Linked DNA regions of Homo sapiens: region 1 is linked to region 2. Evidence: promoter capture Hi-C in human tissues and cell types (Jung and others, 2019). All regions are on one chromosome and are shown on one strand. Each heading gives the region's core, a stretch centred on a gene start or on the middle of the fragment in contact. The rest is flanking DNA. Distances are from core to core; before and after follow the strand shown.

The links. The method cuts DNA at HindIII sites, captures the fragments that hold promoters and counts their contacts. A contact is called where the count stands out against the background at its distance.
Region 1: a contact is called between a fragment that was not itself captured here and the fragment with the promoter of TWIST2 in region 2, in 1 of the 25 tissues and cell types used here (IMR-90 fibroblasts).

The regions. Positions count from the first base shown.
Region 1 is chr2:238,515,089-238,519,622 of GRCh38, reverse strand. All of the region lies in intron 2 of LINC01107 (long intergenic non-protein coding RNA 1107), which reads left to right. Among named protein-coding and RNA genes, the nearest start is that of LINC01107, 38 kb to the left of the region's middle. RefSeq lists an enhancer at 793-1,992. The HindIII fragment of the contact is 3,538 bases long and covers 491-4,028 here.
Region 2 is chr2:238,845,684-238,850,218 of GRCh38, reverse strand. It overlaps TWIST2 (twist family bHLH transcription factor 2), which reads right to left and starts at 2,134. Exons shown (of 2, transcript NM_001271893.4): 1 at 1,486-2,134. The coding sequence starts at 2,003. The coding sequence ends at 1,521. It overlaps LOC100287387 (a long non-coding RNA gene), which reads left to right and starts at 2,312. Exons shown (of 1, transcript NR_157851.1): 1 at 2,312-4,535. RefSeq lists enhancers at 623-1,133, 1,134-1,643, 3,177-3,687, 3,688-4,198. The HindIII fragment of the contact is 12,284 bases long and covers 1-4,535 here.

The DNA.
Region 1 (4,534 bases), core at 1,010-3,509, 330 kb after region 2:
GCTTTTGCCAGGGGCCCAGCCAACCCTCACTGGGTGCCAAGCCAGGCCTCTTGAAATGGCAGCAAGGAAAGACTCATTCAAGGTAAGAAGGAAAGCCAGGGCTAAGAGACAGCGGCCCCAGCATGCAAAAGGCAGGGTATACAGGTGCCTGGCCAGCTGGCTTCCAGTCCAGGCCACATCACTAAGCACCAACAGACTGACATACCCACCCTGGGCCTTGGCTTCTCGGCCTTTAACAGCAAGGCCAGACCAGCACTGCCCATGTACCAGAAGTAGCGTGTGCACGCACGTGTGAGGAGGTGTGTGCACAAACCTCCAGGGAGGGGCTCTGTGATCTCCAACAGATCACCAGGGACCCAGCACTGAAAACTGAACACAGACTCCAGTGGTAGATAATCCCCAAGAACCTCCAGGTTTAGTGGCCCAACCACCACGGCCGGTGCAGAGTCCCTGGGTGGGAGGGGGGTGAGGGGGCACCTCCAGAGAGCAGATCCAACCCCTGAGCAGCAGGGTCTCCACAGGACGGTAAGAACACCCCAACTTCTCCTTTGCTCCCTCTGGATAAGAAAGGCTACAGGATCTTTGTCCAAATAGCACAACGAGGCCAAGGGTGGAGATGAAAGCGCTGAGTTGGCATTGCAGGAATAGTTCCTGATAGGCCGGATCTCAAAGTTGGATGTTTGATTGATGAATTCCTCTGTGTAAAAATAAATAGCAAGACGACCCAGCTCTCCACAAAGAGCAGAGTGGGAGGAGGAGCTGCAATGTGCCCCCCACATGACGAGCCCAGGAAAGCATGTAGGTCTGCATGTGTGTGCAGTGCGTGTCTGTGTAAGTAAATACACCAGCGTGTGCGTGAAATGTGTTCTCACATCAAGCGTTCCGACCCTCCGTTTGCCTGGGGAGGCGGAAGTGCTCAGAGTGAAAATCAGATGCAGACATGTGTATGACAGCAAGTCCAAGTCTAATTAAAACAAGCTTCCCACCTCTCCTCTCCAGGAACTGAGATGACCCCTGCTGGATTCTCAGTAGCTTCTGTAGGTTTGGTGCGTTTTTAAAAGGAGCTAACCATTATCCCATCAAGTACATCGGACGAAGTGTGTATGTTTCCATTTAAACCCCCTGAGTCTAAGATGGTATTTAATTCTGTGGAAACCACTGAAATCCTGCAGGATTCTGAGGAAACAGTCTATTGATTCACGTCAGTCCTTCCCAAACCTCTGACAAAACGAGAATTCTTTCCCGATGAGCCTCCCACCCCCGTAGCAGGGCGGACGCTTAGATGAAGCAAGAGCTTTGATGTGAGAGAAGTGCTGTCGCTTGAGCCAACAGACACAGCTGCCCCTTGAAGGGACCAAGGAGATTTCCCATAAACGAGCTCCGGTAAATTCCAGGGCTGAGGCAGGGTTTTGTTTCACCCTGGATGGCGAAAGAAAGAAAGAAAAATGGCATAATGCTGCACACTTACCAACATGTCATACATTCTTACACAAATCGCACCACAGAACATACTCCCTCTTACCCACTACTACCAAAAATAAAGAAAAGTTCAAGGATGCTGAAATCACCAAAAACCACCAGCTCATGACAGACACCCTAGAGCAAACCCGCTGTGGGGGTGCACAGAGAACGAAGTCCGGACTAAAAGGAGCCGCGGGGCCCAGGCATACAGGACAAGGACTTTTGCTCTCTCTAGTTTGGGGCAAATGGAAAACCCATATGAAACTCCCGTCACTCCAAGATGAGTAAATAAAAGAATTCCAGCACCTTAAGCTATACAAAACTTCAAAATGAAAATACAGCAAAGTAAAAAAGCAGATAAAGAGAGCACTTCAGAACATGGCAAGAAATTAAAGTGGAGACAAAAACTGTTCTCATATTCTCAAGTCAATGAAAGAAAACATGTAAAAATTTAGACATGTAGATATCTTTTTCATCTAACTTTTTAAGTACCTTATATATGTATATATGTTTATTTATATACATAAAGCACATATTTATATAAATGTTTATATAAATCATATAAATATATATGCAAGTACTGTACATAATCTTACCTAATCCTTAAATTGAATTAATAGTCTTATTTCCATTTTACACATGAAGAAACTGAAGCACCTGAAATTGAAGTCAATTGGTAATTATAACAATAAATATAAATGGGACAAATACACTGTTCCAGTTTCTATTTGCTGGGTAACAAACCATCTTAAAACTTAGCAATATAAAAGCCATTTTATTTATGCTCACAATTCTACAGGTCAGGAGTCAGGGCAGGCACAGAGAGGAAAGCTTGTCTCTGCCCTACCATGTTGGCAGACTCATTCTGCTGAAATAGGAGATAGCAGGGACAGCTCAAGTCGTGTCACATGTGTGGGCCTTGATTCTTCTTGACATGGCATCCTCTGGGGATTCTCAGTAACTTATGTAGATTTGGTGCATTTTTAAAAGAAGCTAACCATTATCCCATCAAGTATGTATGATGAACTGTTTATGTTTCCATTTGAACCTTCTGAGTCTGTGAGGGTATTTAATTCCATGAAATCCTGCAGGATTCTGGGGAAACAATTTACTGGTTTACATCAGTCCTTCCTGAACCTCCAACAATGCAGTTCTTTCCCGACAAGTCTCCCAGTCCTGTAGCTCTGGATGGATGTTTAGATGAAGCAAGAGCTTTGATGTGACAGAAATTACCAAGGTGACTTCTTTTACTGCCGGTCTAGTGATCCTAGCACCCGGGATGATATGGGTGGAATAGCTAGGGTCTGGACAGCTCGCTCTCTCTCTCTCTCTCTCTCTCTCTCTCTCTCTCTCTCCAAGTGGCTTCTTGACATGGCTAGCTTGGGTTCATCATAGAATTGTGGCCTCAAGGTAGTTGGACTTCTCACATAATGGCTGCCTACCCTCATCCCCTTTCAAGTGAGCACTAAGATACCAAAGTAAAAGCACCAAAGTTTCTTCAGTCTAGCCTTAGAAGTCATGCAGTATCAAGTCTCCTGCATTCCATTGATCAAAACAGTCATAGAGCCTGTCTAAATTCCAAGGGAAGGGAACCATAGACCCCAACTCTTGAAGAGAGGACTGTCAAAGAAGTTGTGGCCATCTTTAATCTGCCATTCTTATCTTTTAAAAGAAAAAAGTCACTCAGAAGTCAGGAAAGGCTGCAATGCTCTGGAGGAAACCAACTGAAGAAAATAAACAATGCACTCCTAAATAACCAATGGTTCAAAGAAAAAAATCACAAGGGAAACTAGAAAATACTTTGAACTGAGTGAAACAAAACCACAACATACCAAAACTTACAGGATGCCACTAAAGCAGTGCTTAGAGGGAAATGTCTAGCTATAAATGCTAGATCACAAAAGAACAAAGATCTGAAATAAATAATCTAACGTTCCACTTGCAAACCCCAGTGGTAGATAATCCCTAAGAAAATAAGAAAAATAAGAGCCAACCCAACTGAAAACAAGCAGAAGGAAGGAAATAATAAAGATTAGAGCAGAAATAAGAGAAACAGGGAAGAGAAAACCAGTGGAGAAAATCAATGAAACCTAAAAGCTGGTTCTTTGAAAAGGTCAACAAAACTGACCAACCTTTAGCTAGACTGACTAAGAAAAAAGAGGAATGACTCAAATGACTAGAATCAGAAATGAAAATGGGGACATAACTAAGGACCCTGAAGAAATAGAAAGTGTTGTAAAGGAACACCATGAACAATTATACACCAACAAATTGTATAACTTAGATGAAATGGACAAATCCCTAGAAAGACACAAACTACTGAAGCTGACTCAAGAAGACAATGTGAATAGACTTATAACAAGTGAAGAGATTGAACTAGTAATTCAAAAATTACCCAGAAAGAAAAGTCCAGGCCCACCCAAGCTTTATCACTGAATTCTGCCAAACATTTAAAAAATTAATATGAATTCTTCACGACTCTTCCAAAAAACAGAAAAACCGCAGGAACATTTCTTAACTCATTTTATGAGGTCACTATTACCCTGATGCCAAAACCAGAAAAGACATTACAAGAAAACTACAGACCAATATCTCATATGAATATAAACAAAAAAATTCTCAGCAACATACTAGCAAACTAAGTCTGCAACATATAAAAAGAGTTACACATACACCCATGGCCAAGTGGGATTTGTCCCAGAAATGCAAGCTTGGTTCAACATCTGAAAATAAATGAATATAATACATCATATCAATAAAATAAAAAACAAAAGTCATATAATATTCTCAATAGAACCAGAAAAGGCTTTTGACAAAATTCAACACATTTTCACGATTAAAAAAAAACACTCAACAAACTAGAAAACAGAAGAGAACTTCCTCACTTAATAAAGTGCATCTACAAAAAACTTACAGCTAAGTTCATACTTGACTGTGAAAGACTTGATGTTTTTCTCCCTTATATCATCAAAATTGATACCTTTTGTGCTTCAAAGGACACCATCAAGAAAGTAAAAATAACTCAGTGAACTGGAGAAAATACTTACAAATAACATGTCTGATAAAAGACTTG
Region 2 (4,535 bases), core at 885-3,384:
TATTTTCTGCTGAAAATTATTTTTTAAAAACTATACAATTATCATTATCTCAGGAGGCTCTGCAGCTACAGAATTTTCAGTGACACCAAAATAAAAGCTAAAAAAATGAAATAAAACCCACCTGTGCTGGATCAGCTTTTCGTGGCCTCAGCAACAACATTCGCAGATATTATAGAACCACATAAAAAAAGAAATAGATATGTTTGGGAGAATAGGCGGCCGGGTGCTCTTGATTAATCTAAATTCCTTCTGTGTGAAGTAGAGTCTTTTATAAAAACATCGCAAGATGTGCGAGGAACTAAAACATACTAAGGGGGAAGGATTTTTAACTCGGCCCCAGCAAAAAGAACTCTGTGCCCCTCCATGGCCCTGGATGGCGGATGAGAGAGGGGCTCGCCTGCTCACAGAGCCTAAGGACGGCGCCTCCGTGGCTCGAGCTTGTCTAAAGGGACTTGGAAGGTGTCTGGTGAAAAGGACCCGGTGCAGGACGCCCTAATCGCTCTTCCAGAGGAAACCAGAACTTGGAGTGCTCCTGGCAGCTGTGTCCCCCGAGCCTTCTCCTCGCGCAGGGCCCGGCGCGCACAGCCTCCCTGTCCCCCAGACCCGTTTCCCAGCCTGGACCCCTCGCCCATCCCTGCGGGGCTGGATGGGCGGGGCCCCTCCCGGGTACTCCAGGGTCAAGGTTGGGACTCAGGGCTCCCAGTTCCTAGGTCAGCTCCACCTGCCTGCGGGCGCCCTGGGGCTCCGCGCGGCTGCGTCGGACCCGCCTGCCTCAGCGCTCCAGGCTCTGCGCTCTCGGCCCAGGGCCCTTCTCGGGCACACCCGGCCCTGTGGCTGCTCTGGCCCCGAAGCGCAGGGCAGTTTCCTCCCGTCCTCCCCAGGCAAACCCTGGAGCCGCAGGCCCGCACCTCTACGCCCACTGGGCAGGCCAGGGCGCCGACGGCCGGGGACCCCAGGCGCGAGCAGCTGGGTAGATCTGAGTGTCCGCCCGACGGACGCGCTCTACCCTTGCCCAGGAAGAAAGCGAAGCCATTCGCCCGGCAACACCCGGCTCGGGCAGCTTCGCGGGCGGCCTGCGCTGCGGCGGACGCAAAGGGCAGCTGGTCCTCATATCCCAGTCCCCAGCCGGCCCCAGGAGGTTTTTCTGATGCTCGCTCCTTCCACCGCCAACCACGGACACCCACACACCACCGAGAATGAAAACTGCGACCATCTGTCTAAGTATCTTCAGAACCCGCCGGGGGAGTCACCGGTCCGCCGGTTCCCAACTGACACCCTCGCGTGGAAGTCTGCACTCAGGGGTGTCCCTGGGACTGTGAGCGTCCCGCCCGCCCGCCTTCCTTGCTAAGAGGAAAAGCGCACGGCATCCAAGCCCCCGCGGCCCGCGGGGCCTCGCCGAGGAGACACGAGCAGGCCCCAATGCCCCTGCGCCCCTGCCGCCCGCCCCCCGCAGCGGAGGGCGCCCGTCGCGCGCGCAGCACCTACCCTGGCGCGCCGGTCCGGAGGTGGGTGGCGCGGCGCTAGTGGGAGGCGGACATGGACCACGCGCCCTCCATGCGCCACACGGAGAAGGCGTAGCTGAGGCGCTCGTGGGCCACGTAGCTGCAGCTGGTCATCTTATTGTCCATCTCGTCGCTCTGCAGGACCTGGTAGAGGAAGTCTATGTACCTGGCGGCCAGCTTGAGCGTCTGGATCTTGCTCAGCTTGTCAGAGGGCAGCGTGGGGATGATCTTGCGCAGCGCCGCGAAGGCCTCGTTGAGCGACTGGGTGCGCTGGCGCTCGCGCACGTTGGCCAGGATGCGCTGGCTCTGCAGCTCCTCGAAGGACTGCGCGCTGGGGCTGCCCTTCTTGCCGCGCTTGCCCGGGGTCGGGCTGCCATCTTCGCTCGACTTCTTGCTGTAGCGCCGCTTCCGGCCGAAGCGCTTGGGCTGCCTCTCGAGCTCCTCCTCGCTGGTGCCCAGGCTGTCCACGGGGGACACGGGCGAGCTGGAGCCCTCCTCCATGGCGCCCGCCCGGCGCGCGTGGGGCTGGGGGCGCCGGGGCGCCGAGCGCGCGCCGCTGGCCAAGCCCGCGGTCGCCGAGCACACGCTCTCGGAGTTGCTGGAAAGGCTCTGATTTCAAGGCCGGCTTGTGCAAAACCGAGGTCTCCGGGAGAGGAAGTTATTCTAACTTTTTTGGAAACTCTAGCTGGGCTGGGTTGCTAAATAGTTGTCAGGAGCTAGGGCGGCGCGCTGATTGGCCGCGGTGGCCGGGGGCAGGACAAGTTCTGGGGCCTTCGCCGGCCGCCCCCGCCCCCCGGCGCGGCACTTTCAGTTTTGCCTCCCCCTTCGGCCCCGGCGCGGAGGGCATCCCGGGGGCCGGGTCCTCGCCCGCCGCCCGCGCCCCCACCCCGAACGCAGGGCACTCTCAGGCCGCCCCGAGCCCTAGGCCCGGCCAAGCCTGGCTTTGTCTACGCCTCAACGTAGAGATCGGCCCCCACTGGGCTTTGGGGGGTTCTCTCTCTGGGCGTGAGGGGCTAGAGAGGCGAGTCCAGTCCCAGATGCGCTCCCAGAAGATGAGGACGCAGCCAGGAGCCTCCTCGACCTGTGTGGGTCTTGGCCGCCCCCGGGCGCACAGCTAGTCTGCACCGCGGCCCGCAAGCTTAGGCCTGGGGTCTGGGGAGCTGCGCGGGCAGGGGTCTCGGTGTCCGGACCGCCAGTGTAAGGACAGTCGGGGCCCCCTGGAGACGCCCGTGCCCAAGGACATGCCGCCAAGATCCGTGGAGATGCCACCCTTCGGCCAGCGTGCGTGTCGGGGACCATTTCTTACCCTGGCTTGCTGGGGAGCCCCGGCCCCGACGCCCTTCCCGAACCTTCCTTCTAACAGCTTTAAAACAACGCCACAGCGAGCCTCTGCGGGAGCGCCCGGTACCCGCCGCGCCCGCCTGCCTGGCCCTACCCGGGTTGCTGGGCGCGGGTTGGGGCGCCTGCCGGCCCGCCTTGTACGGCCCCAGCCTCTGCGCTCCGCCTTCGCTTCGCGGGTCAGCAGAGGACGGAGGGCGCTCCGGGAGCTGCACGAGGCTGCCCCGGGCCCAGCCTCCGCTGCGCTGGCAGCCCGCGGGCAGCTCCGAGCAGGAGGCTCAGGGTGGCTGGAGTGTGGGGCCCGGCCTCGGTGAGCGACACCACGGACCCCGGCCCCGGGCCATCTGGACGGCGAGCGCGAGCGCGTTTGAAGTGGTTGGGGGGCTCTTTGTTCGCCAGGCCGCTCTGGCTCTGGGCCTGGAGGTGGTTTTTACGGCTTTGATGCCTTTGAACCTATTCCCAGGTGACCCGGGCTCAATTAGGCCCGGGCCTGAGCCGGGCTGTCAGGCAAGCCGCGTGATCAAGGGCGGGCTGGGCCCTTTTATTGAAGTTGAACCCGAGACCGGGGAGTGCTCGGCCTCCGCTGCTCCTCCGGCCGGCCAGGCGGGCCGCGAGGTGGGGCCCGCGGGCCACGACCACCGCGTTGGGAAACCCGAGGACGGCAAAGAGCGGGCCCTTCGCGCCCCTGTCCGAGGGCCCTGGCTCCGGCCGTTCTAGGGGACGTTTTACCAACAATCCGTCCAGGAAGGCAGAACGCCTAGGAGCGGGCCCTCGCATGCATGTGAGTCGGTAGCAGCGCCCTGCGCAGTGTCCGCGCACCGGACCCGCGGCTTCAGTTCGGTGCCTAAAGGTTCTGCAGAGCCACCGCACCCAGCCCCACCCGGCCTGACCGCCCTCCTTCCTCCGCGCTGGGAAGGCCCACGGCCCCTCTAGCCCAACAAAATAGCTTTCCAGGTCCCTTTCTTTAAAATTCTCAAATAAAAATTTAAGGAACGAGAGAGAGAGAGAGAGAGAAGCCAGGTCCCCAGCCGTCCTGCCGGTGCTGGGCTGCAGCCCTTCCTGGGGCTTCACGTCAGATGGAAAGGGCCTGTTTTTCCCGAACTGGCCTTTCCCTGGTTTCTTTGCTCAGAGCAGTGACAGTAGCGATTTGCTGCCCTTTTACCAACCCTGTGTGGGTCCAAGGACCCAGATCCAGGGACATCTTCCCTTTCCCAGATGCGGAGGGCTTTTACTGAGGAGAGGACCTGCCTGGTAGCCTGCTTCGCCATCCTCGTCTCCCTGTCTGCGTGCCCCTGTGTCACTCTGGCTCTGTCGGCGTGTCTCTTTCTCTGTCCTTTCTGTCTCTTTCTCCAGCAGAGAGAGTTCATAGTTTAGTTTGAAAGAAAAACAGCTCAGCTTTGGTCCTGAGCAGCCCAGGGCTCAGCCCAGCCCTGAAGACCAGAGGCCCCGGGGACGCCCTGGAAGGGCAGCGCAAGCTGGATTGCAGGCTCACCTCTGCCTGGGGAGATGGACCTGGAGGATTTCACCTGCGACCCCCCGGGGCGCCCTGGAGCTATCATAACCAGCAGCCCAGTTCAACCGTCTGGATGCACTTTCTTCATGGCGTGTCTTGTCTATTTTAAAATGCTTTAACAATGATTATAGTACTGGAGGCTGTGATACTGACGGCTGCCTGCGGAAAACCTTGCTTAACAG